2 separate regions of the Homo sapiens genome follow, and region 1 is linked to region 2. Evidence: promoter capture Hi-C in human tissues and cell types (Jung and others, 2019). All regions are on one chromosome and are shown on one strand. The core of a region is centred on a gene start or on the middle of the fragment in contact, and the rest is flanking DNA. Distances in the headings are between cores, read along the strand shown. Region 1 has its middle 38 kb from the start of SLC13A1. Region 2 holds the start of SLC13A1 (solute carrier family 13 member 1).

Evidence for each region. The method cuts DNA at HindIII sites, captures the fragments that hold promoters and counts their contacts. A contact is called where the count stands out against the background at its distance.
Region 1: a contact is called between a fragment that was not itself captured here and the fragment with the promoter of SLC13A1 in region 2, in 1 of the 25 tissues and cell types used here (bladder).

Annotation. Positions count from the first base shown.
Region 1 is chr7:123,234,714-123,240,425 of GRCh38, forward strand. No RefSeq gene overlaps it. Among named protein-coding and RNA genes, the nearest start is that of SLC13A1, 38 kb to the left of the region's middle. The HindIII fragment of the contact is 3,808 bases long and covers 1-3,513 here.
Region 2 is chr7:123,197,529-123,202,692 of GRCh38, forward strand. SLC13A1 (solute carrier family 13 member 1) reads right to left here and starts at 2,441. Exons shown (of 15, transcript NM_022444.4): 1 at 2,320-2,441. The coding sequence starts at 2,418. The HindIII fragment of the contact is 8,203 bases long and covers 1-5,164 here.

The DNA.
Region 1 (5,712 bases), core at 360-2,859, 36 kb after region 2:
TTTTCTTGGTAGAGCTATATATAGTAAAACCCTGTATCCATAAAGCATAGCTCCAGGTAGTCAGTAGTAAGGTTATATTGAGAAGATAAAGATGTCTTATTCTTCACTTCAAAAATAGTTTGATATTCTCACCTCTTCACTTCCCCGCTTTAATGTTGGCAGATGACACATATGTTCTCTTTTCTAAAGCAACCACATTCACCACTTGTCTTCGTACTAGGCATTATTCCCTCTTTCTACCATTTTCAATCTGTTTGGCTACATACATCTTTAATTCACCCCTGTTATTCCCTAAATCTTGAGAGTTTCAAATCCACTTTATTCAGTACACTTTCAAATTAACATTCTAATTCTCTCTTTTATCTCTAGTTTTCTTAAGAGTAATTTTGCTCTCTTCTTTCTCAGTTTCTATTTATTTATCACCTCCTGGCAATCTAGCCTTTGTCCTCAGCAATTGCCTTTGCCTATCCTCTCACCTGCAAATGACAAGGAAGAGAATCCACACCTTCTGCCCACTCTGTCTCACTTTCTGCTCACTTCCTGGACCCTGGAGCCTGCTTGCTTTGCCCTGTGGGATCCCTTCTCTGTTTTCTATTGTTATTGGTTCCAAGTTTGGCTCTTGCATGGAGCAGGTATTCACAGCTGTATGACTTGTGGTGCAAAGGTGAAGGGTACCACAGGTACACAGAATTGTTATGGTATATGGTGGTGGTGAGTGAAGGCCCTTACTTCAAGCTTCTTTAGTTTACATTCTAATTCCTCCACTTATGACCTATGTGGCCCTAGGTAGGTTACTCACTCTTATTGTCAAAAATGAAGATATTAGTTCTTAACTTATAGGCTTATTGGGAGAACCAAATAAGTTAAAGTGCTTAGAATAACACCTGGTCTTTTATATTAAGCTGAATGTCATATGACTTATAAAAATGGCTGTATAATTTTTGTACTAATAAAATAACTGCTTACTATATATTTCAATCATGTTCAGAAATGCATTTATGTAAGTCCCAGATCTGCTCTATCCTTTAATCCAGATTCAAGGGTTTTACACTTCTAGCATAAAATATAATTAAAAAAGAATCTACCCCATAGTGTTGGACACTTTAGACAATCTGGCATGTAATATATTCTCCATAAATATTATAACTTGCCAGGTGAAAGAGCTTGTTGAAGAAAATCAGAGGCTTTCAAGGAGACAGCAACCTTTATTTACAGGGAGACCACAATGACCAGGGGAAGTGCAAGTCTTCTTAGAGGTTATGCTGAGTGGATAAAGCTCTCACACTGGAGAGCTGGACTTACCTAACAGACCCTTGAGTCCAAACAAGGACAGCCTTTGAGGTTGAAACTATCAGCAGCATGGACCTCGCTGGATCAATAGTTCTCACTTTCTTCATATCCCAATAGGATCATCACCTCCTGTGAAGGTAACCTACCAGAGACTTTGCTCTGTAGGTTGACTGCTCAAGTAAATTAGGCCCACATGGTAATCCTGAGTCAATTTTGGCTCATTCATTCATGGTCAGCAAATACATCTTGAGTATATATAGTAAGTACAAGGAACTAGGCTGGGTACAGGAATACAGTGATGTATAAGCTAGACATAATTCTGTTCTCATTAAACATGCTCAAAGAGAAAAATTTACCTTCGAAACATTGATGGACTTTCTATCTATATTTCAGAGAATCTCACAATACAACTATTATTTTTATAAGCAAAAGTTTCTTGCAATGTGTAGATTCTACCACTTCATTTTTAAACTTAAAATTAGGACATTAAAAGTTAAAAACCATAACTCTTCATATTGATCCTTTTTTTATAGTCAGCGGAAACAGAAGGGTAATAACAAAGTTTTACATTATTTTCAGCAATGTTTCGATTATTTGTTGCCCACAGGTTTCAGAAATTCTCCTCTTAAGACTGTGATTTCCAGGAATCAAACCCTCAGGCTCAGACATCTTAGTCATAAGTACTACTCATTTTCCCAGTGGCTCTGTAAGGTACAAATTTCCAGAAAGACTGGGCCGAGGTCTACGATTTCCTTCCTTCCTCCCCCACCTCTCCCTATGTTCCCTCCTTCTTTCTTCTTCTGTTCCTTCCCTTCCCTTTCAACACCAGACTACAAGAGGTTTGGGTTTCAGTACACTTCTTTATAGTTTTTAAATAGGACATTGTTTGTTATAGGAAAGCACCTTGCACAGATACTATTTTCCCAGCACCTAACTTTGGATATTTCTTTTCTTCTGGGTTTGAGGACCATAATCTAACTTCTTGTTTGCCTGACTTGCTATTTCTGCTATTTGTCCTGTTTGCAATAAACAAAGCACTTCAGGCATTTCCATATTTTTTGCAAGTTATCCCCTAAAGCTTGGTTTCTTCAAGCCATAGCCTACACATTCTGACATTCCCTCTGCTCAAACACACACTGAGGCTTTCTATCTAAGGACACAAAAACAATGCAGGTTTAAGGTTATCAGTCATGTCTGTCAAAGCAACTGCAATTGAGTAGGAAGAATATAAACACCAATGGCAATAATAATAATTATAAGAATTGTTTATAACTTTATATAATAACTTATACAAAGTATTATAATTACATATGGGTATTATATATCATATTATAATATGTGCATGTGTATATGCATCTATGTATACATATATGTTAAAATCAAATATACATTATATATACACTAAAAAAGACAGTGCTAAAATTCACAGATAGTTGATGCTTTTGGAATTCAGAGGATAAGATTGAGGATTAGGTTACTTTGGAAGAATTTTAGCAAAAACAATAGGTAAAGCTATGAAGAATGAGTAGGCTTTAGGAAGGAGAAGTGGACAGACTCTGGGGGAAAGTATGGCATAATCGGGAAGAGAGTCAGGAAACACAAAGCATTCTTTAGGGACATCTTCTTTTTCTTTTGTTTTTGTTTTTTTTTTTCCCAGGAATTGTGTAGTACATTACAGGACAAAGTAAGCCAGAAGTTTGGAAAATTAATAACTTTTCCAAAAGGGGACAGGTAGTGGAGGGCCAGGAGGCCAGGCTGAGGAGTTTGCACTTGACTCTGACACCCAGCCAGTGTGAGTCCAGCAAGCATGAGTGATGATTTTTTATTCCTGGTCATTGGCTATATGCTATTTTAAATATTGAGGATTATGGGGACGTTCTGTTACACATGTGTATACCCTGAAAGGAAATTTTAATTTTATTTCATTCTACTTTTTAAATGTTTAAATATATGACAAATAAAAAATATACTTTGATATAAGGAGTAAGCAGGGCTTTTACTTTAGATATTGTTTTCATTCACTAGTAGTTAATCCAACATCATTTGTTAAATACTCCATTTTATCTTCAATTACTTGAAATACTACCTTAATCATTCATATACTGAATTTTCTTATACATCTGGATGTATATTTTGTTTCATTGAAGAATTTATCTATTCTTATACCAAGACCATCCTTCTTTTATTTGTTCTTTTTTAAAAACAATTAGTTTTATTGAAGTATAATTTGAATCCAATTAAATTCACCCTTTTTAACTATAGATTTTGATAAACTTTGTGAAATATGTACGGACATATAACCAGCACCAAATCAAGATAGAACATCTGTCACCCTGAAGTTTTCTTATGCCCCTTTGCAGTCATTCCTCTCTCTGTATCCTCCAACTCCTGATAACTACTGTCCTGATTTTTGTCCCTATAATTTTGCCTTTTCTAGAATTTCATAATAAATGGAATCACACAATAGCCTTTTGTGCTGGGCTTCTTATACATAGCACTATGGCTCTGAGATTCATTCACACTGTTGCATGCAACAGTAGTTCTTTCCTTTTTATTACTGAATAGTATTACATTTACAGACGCAACATGTTTATCCAGACATCATCTAATGAACATTTAGATTGTTCCCAGTTTTTGGTTATTCTGAGTAAAACTATTATGAACATTTGCATACACATCTCTTGTGGATATGTTTTCATTTATTTTGAGTAAATACTTAAAAGTGGGATTACTGAGTCATCTGGAAAGTACCTAATGAAAAACAATCACACCGTCTCCTAATGTGGCTGAACCGTTTTGCATTTCTACAAGTAGAGTATGAGCTCCAGCTTTTTACATTCTTGTCAACACTTGATACTGTCAGTTTAAAAAATTTTAATCATTCTCATGGGTATATAGTGGTATTTTGATATGGTTTTAGTTTGCATTTCCCTATAGAATAATGATGTTAATTATATTTTCATGTGCTTATGAGTAATTTATAAAAATTCTTTGAAGTCTCTGTTTAAATCTTTGGTCTATTTTTAAAAATCAGGATGTTTGTCTTTCTACTTTGCCTGTTATTTTCATTATTGAGTTGTAAGTATTCTTTATATATTCTCAACACAAGTCTTTTATTAGATACATGTTTTCTTCCAAATAATACTGTATATGCTATTGTTACTAGCATTGAAGACACTTGTTCTATCATTTCAAATTCCTTACAGGAATTCAGCCTTACATGGAAATATACTATATATTGGCACTAGTATTAAAATCAATGGTACTCTTATGAAAAATGCCAATAAAGAAGGCAGAGTGGTCAAGAAATCTCTGTGCATATGAGCACTGCATTTCTAAATATAATCTTCTATCAGTGGCTGGGCAAAGCTTGTACAAGCAACTATCCATCTGTTTTCTTTATTCCTAACTCCCTCGCCTTTTCTTAGAATGATTTCTCAGGGTCTTGGCTTACTGGTTATCCTTTCAACCTGAGTTTTCATTGCCTTCATATACCTCTCCTCTACTTAGGAAGAAGATAGGTTATAAAGATCATAAAAAACACACCTACATGCTTTTGTCATCATTGATTACTGATTGAGAACCAAACACACTGATTTCACATAATTTAACAATAGGAGAGATCCCAAACCTCAAATTTCAACTCCTGAGTTGTTGAGTAAAAGACCTCATCTGTAACAGATATTCATTAAATGTTTCTTAGATCAAATGATGGTAGAAATGTTTCTAATATGCCTTTCCTACCTACTACCCCTAAACATTAATAGCACAGACAGTTATCCTTGATTGGTGAGGATATATATTGGGGAGAATCTTAGCCTCAGGCAGATTGTGGCTGGACCACTGAGACAAGGGCCTTCATTAAGATAATTTTCATCTTTCAGAATTAGGCTGGTATCCTGTGGATCTTCCACAACAGATTCACAAACATATATGCCCAGCTCAGAACTCTCCTTCAGATCAAGAAACATATGTACAGTGCCTGCTTGAGATTTTTCCATGGATTTATCCAAGATACCTCAACTAAACCCATAGCATTTCTACCAGAACATAGTCCCCTCAGAGAATGCATTATAATTCATCCAGTTGTGCCTTTCTGTCTTCACCCTATCAACACTGTCAATACCACCCTATTTTAAACTACCACCATCACCTTTTGCCTCCCAGTTGATCTTCCTGAACTCATTCTTGCTGCCTTCCAATCCTTTCTCCACATTGTGCAAATCTGATCCACCACTGCCCTCTCACCCTCTTCACTAACTTTCCCTTGTCCTTAAGGTAAAGACGCAACTGCCCAGTGGCCTATAAATCTTTGCTTTGTCTTCCCCCAGCTCACACCTCAGCCTCCTCATACATTATGTTCCCTATCACTCCCTGTGCTTCAGTGACTCTGCTTTCTTTAGTTCTTTATAGTTACCATGC
Region 2 (5,164 bases), core at 1,191-3,690:
TAAGCAAGTTAAAATAATAGTCTTTCAGTTTAATTAGCAGTTTATTGAATGATTAAATATATGTTTAAAGTGGCCAAAAAATAATATCATGTTATTATACTAGGAATAAATCCTCCATTAACATTAATTGAGTTTTAACAAATGAGTTGATTAGGAGGAAAGGAAAGAGGAACCAGCTCACCAGATGCAACTTGGTGCCAGACACCTGGTTCCTGCATGGACCTAATGTTCTTTTGTCATAGCACCTTGGAAAAAATAATCAGTGGCTGCATTTCTTAAAAATAATACACTTCCCAGTGAATGAATCATGTACTAAAATGATTGCTTTTGATTTATTTACTCATTTTGTTTTTCAAAGAGTTTATATTCATTTCTCAGAAAATTATGGAGGATAATCAAATTGTCATGCATTTATATGTAAAAAGAGCAGCACAGATGATATGTGGTAATGACCTAAATTTGTCTTGACTAGTTTAATTTCCTACTTTCTCTGCCATAAGTAAGAATGTATGCTGAGACTAACTCAAAAATATTAAAATATAGCAGGGCTCCAGGTATGAAGCAGGATATGGTCATGATAGGATTCAGCCAAATCTAGAGGACTCATGGGACCAGGAGAGTTGCAAAGTGAAGATCATAATGTGTCTTAGATGAAGTTCTTGGCAAGGAGATGGGGTGAGAATTCAGAATAGAGCACTATTTCTGTGCTGGAATTTGTCATCTGATGGGGCTGCCAGAGATTCATATAGGAGACCTCACAAGGAGCCGGGGTGGGAGTGGCAGGGTGGGAGGGAAAGGGTTAGTCACACAGAATTTGAAAAACAAAACCAACAAAGCCAAAAACAGCTGACAAGGTCTTTTAGTTATTATTATTATTTACAAATTCTGTACGAATTTGAGGGCTTAGAAATTTGGACCAAAAGGGGTGGGGAGTTTTTCCCTTCCCTCCATGTAGCTCTGTGAGACCTCAGCACAAGGAGAGATAAGCCAAGAATGCTGCAGCTAGAAGATTGCACCTGGTGGGAGACAACCCACAGATGCCACAGCAGGGGCCAGTCCCTTCTCCAGCTTTGCAGGTAGGATAGGCCTTGACAGTGTCCAAAAGGACTTTATTAGCTCACATGAATTCCCTTCAGAGGTCCCAGGATCACTGGCAAAGGCTTCTGGCAGAGGCTGGAGGGACCACCATATTATAGTTAATATGATTCTATTATAACCCAGACTGGTGTAACCTCGATTAGTACTTGTTAGAGGAGAGCATCAGCAGGGTTCTTGCCCATTAAGAGGAGGGACTGTGCATAATGGAGTGCTGGGAATTGCCCCACCTGTGGAGTCAACACACCCAAGGAGACTGGCACTGCACACTTACTGTGTGCCAGGCACTGCTCCAAATAAGTGTTTGAAGAGTGTTTCTTCATTTCATTCTCACAACAAGCCTGCTACTATACACATCTTTCATATGAGAAAACAGAAGCACAGAGACATTAAGTAGCATGCCCAGGTGACACAGTTTGTAAGTGGTAAATCTGGGACCTGAAGCAGAGAATCTGGCTCCAAAGCCTGTCCTCTTACTACCAAGTGACGTTTGTGCCTGGCACAGAGAAGGTGCTCATTAAATGTTTGCTGATTCAAATCATTTTACCAAGAAATTAAACATGCTTGAGCTTATTGTTCTGGACTTAATGCCCTGACTACTCTTAAAAAGCAAACAAAAATGCTTACAAGTACACCACAATGAAACAAAACCTGGAATTATCAGAACATGGTAAATGCTTTATTAGATTTTCTGATTGACCAAGGGAAATTACTCTAAGCTTTCAATGTCTTCTTTTCCTACAAGGGAACTAAATTTCCAGGAAGTTCTGTGACAAAGCCACAGAGCTGAGAAGTAAATTAGTCTGTGCTGGACCTAGGATTTCCCTTGTTCTTCCACCTCTGTCCCCAGCAATTGCTTTGCTGCCTATTCTCAGGGGAAGGCATTGCACTAGCCATGCATGCTCCCTGGAGAATGACAACTTGAACTGCAAAATCTCAAAGGTTGTGCTTCTTTTGTTCTTCCTCTCATCTAGTTGATAGGCAGAGAACAATTCTGATTGAATATTCTATTTAATTATGTTTAATCATACTAAGAATCAACCAATGTTAATTATTAAAAAGGGAGAAAATGGCCAAAACATCATGTACAACCATCCTGACTTTAGGTATGAAGGGTCAACATTCATTCAGCTCTGAGCCAGGCAGTTAAACAGCAAACAGTTTTAATAAAGGACAATTAAATAAGTCAGGAAATCCACCAGTCTGTTCTCCAGGTTCACTCACCTTGGTGTGGAGGACGATGGGCAGAGGTAGTAAAACCAACACAGTGAAAACCACGAAGAGAAATCGGCGATAAACCAGAATGTAACTGAAGAATTTCATTGTCCTGAGCAGGTGGCTTCAATAGTGTCCTCCAAATAAAGCAGATGTTAAATAACCAACTTGGATTAATATTTTTCCAGCCTGTCACCTTCACTCACTGCCCTAGACCGACCAACACAAGTTAAAATTAAATCTCATTTTTTATTGTTTTACTATCACAATTAACATGAAGAGATAGGCCCAAGACTTTTCATGAGAAATCAAAGACCATTTGCTCCTCTGGGTTTTCAAGGAAAAACTGTTCTTTCCCTGCTTTCTTTGATCACATTCACTGAAATACAGACTGGACAAGCCTAGGAGAAGGCAAAACCATGAAGCTGGTTGTTTGTTCACAATGAGGCACTTCCAACCCTTTTGATGTCCTCTGACTTCCAGACTCCCTAACTGGAGTAGTTACCACATTGTCATGGTGCCATGAGTGAGTCTCCACAGGCAGCCTCCATGGCCCTTTCTAAGGAAGTATGTTTTCAGTGTGTAAATTGAAATAGCAACTAATAGTTGGAATTTCAGTGTATGACAGTGAAAGGGAAACTTTTTTGTTTAGAGATGGATTTTTAACGGACTTCTTGGACAATGTATTGCAAGGGTCTTCTACAAAATTTATAGCAAATGTCCCTGTTGGTTAGAAGCAAAGTTTTGTGTATTTCTTGGACCCTATTGTCTCTTTTGATAGAAAACCAAAATAACCATGAAGTGTTATATAAACCCTCTATTTTAAGACCTTTGAAGGCTTGATTTGATACTGTTGTGCTGATACAGACTACATAATTATCAGGGAATCTGCATAAAGATGAGTGATTAGGGACATTCAAGTGGTGTGTGATGTGTGTGTGTGTATGGTTTGTGCACATGAGCACATGGGAAGTTGGAGACTGTTCCAACAGTGATATGGAGGATGTATTTTGAAAATCTTCAGGGATAAGGACCCTGGTTTTTTTCACGTTGTGTTGTAAATTGATGATCCAGTAAACCTCAAGTTAGCAACTACTACTTGTCTTTAGATATAAATGAAACACATTCCCAGCCCTACTAGAATTTATAGTCAATATCTCTTGACATAGATAACCTTACTCTTATGTAATCTATAGTTAGCATTTAGGTCTTATTTCTAACTTCATACTAATATAACTCTGCATTCTCTTTCCATCAAGAGAAACAATTCTCTCACCAGTACTCACCATATTAATGTAAATGAGAAAGCATTTTTTTCCTGTAAAAAATTTAAATTCCTAAACATCTATTATGGACAGTTATTCAGGAAAATCAGAATAGTAAACAGAAAAAAAGTTTCCAAACCAGAAAGTCTTATTATATCTTAAATTTCTTAGATGAAAGGATAATTACAAATGATATTGTAATAAAATGGTAAGTGATAATAAATAGGTAACAATAGTATATAGTGTTAAAATTAATTTATGAACTGATTTACTCAAACCAGTTGTAGTACTTATTTTTTTCCATTAACACCCTGTACAGTTCTCTAGTTCATTGCATGCTTTTTTTTAAACTACTACTTTTTGAAGAAACCATTTTTGCTCTCAGATTTCCTTCAGCTACCTGGTGAGATGATTTGAGCCTCACTTTTTCATCTTAGAGGATTTTACTTTGTGAGATGACACCAAAAAACGAAAAGGCATTTGTGTGACATTTAAAGGAAATGAGAGCCTATGTGTAGGCAACTGGAACCAGACAGAGGCTAAGGGAAAAGCACTTGACATTTGTTAGTCCCTCCTTTCTGTGCCCTATTTTCTCTCTTTAGGTCCTCATTTCTCACCAGAGGAAGGCTCCAGGACCCTATTCTTATGGCCTGGGCTCTAGCTAGCTGAATCTGCTGTGGGTGTTCATTATTACAAAACAGCCTCACCTTCTCCTTACCTTCAGCCAACCTCTTATTCCTCGGTGGTTTTCTCTTCACTGTCATAGAGAGAAAAAAATCTAATAAAATAATTTGCACTAAACATGAATGACTGATGTGAGCTGAATGTCTCTGCAAGAGTCACTGGGGAATGAAACTCTAAGGGAGACTTCGGGGCCCCTTGGATACATATCTTAAGGTACCCTTCAAATCACATCACGCTTTAACTAGCTCCATGCCTAGGACAAATTAGTCACAGTTGTCAAATTTCACCTCTTCTTTGTACAGAAAATCATAAACCTTACTACATCATAATTGTGTTATGTTTTATCTAAACTGAATCACACCATTACATAATCATGAATCAGTTCATGACTATGTTCATTCATTTGTTCTTAAGCTTCGCCTAGCCCTTAATTAAAAAACATGTTTACCAAAAAAATCACAGATATTGTTCATTCATTCATTGTTATAGTTATATCCTATGTCCCAGAGAGTTTACATTTAGTACCTCATTTAATCTTCAAAACTTGATACAAGTTATATGTATGTATTGTTATTATTATTTATATTTTATAGATTTGAAAACTAAGATTCAAAGAGGTAAAGTAAAATATCCCAGGTACTAAATGGCAAAACAATTCATTTGAATCCAGTTCTTTCTGGCACCTAAGGCAATGCTCCTTGTACTACGTTTGAGGTCTACCATCAAGAATATTCATTTGGCACTAAGCACTAACTTCAAGTCTAGAATTTGTATGGAGATACCTGGTTTGGTTAGTTTAGGGACTGTAGTTCTGGCGTTTGCCATTGAGACTTCTGGATGGTCATAAATTATGTGAAGCTCAGGTTCAAGCACAGAGGAAATGAAGGGTTTCTTATTGGTAGTAA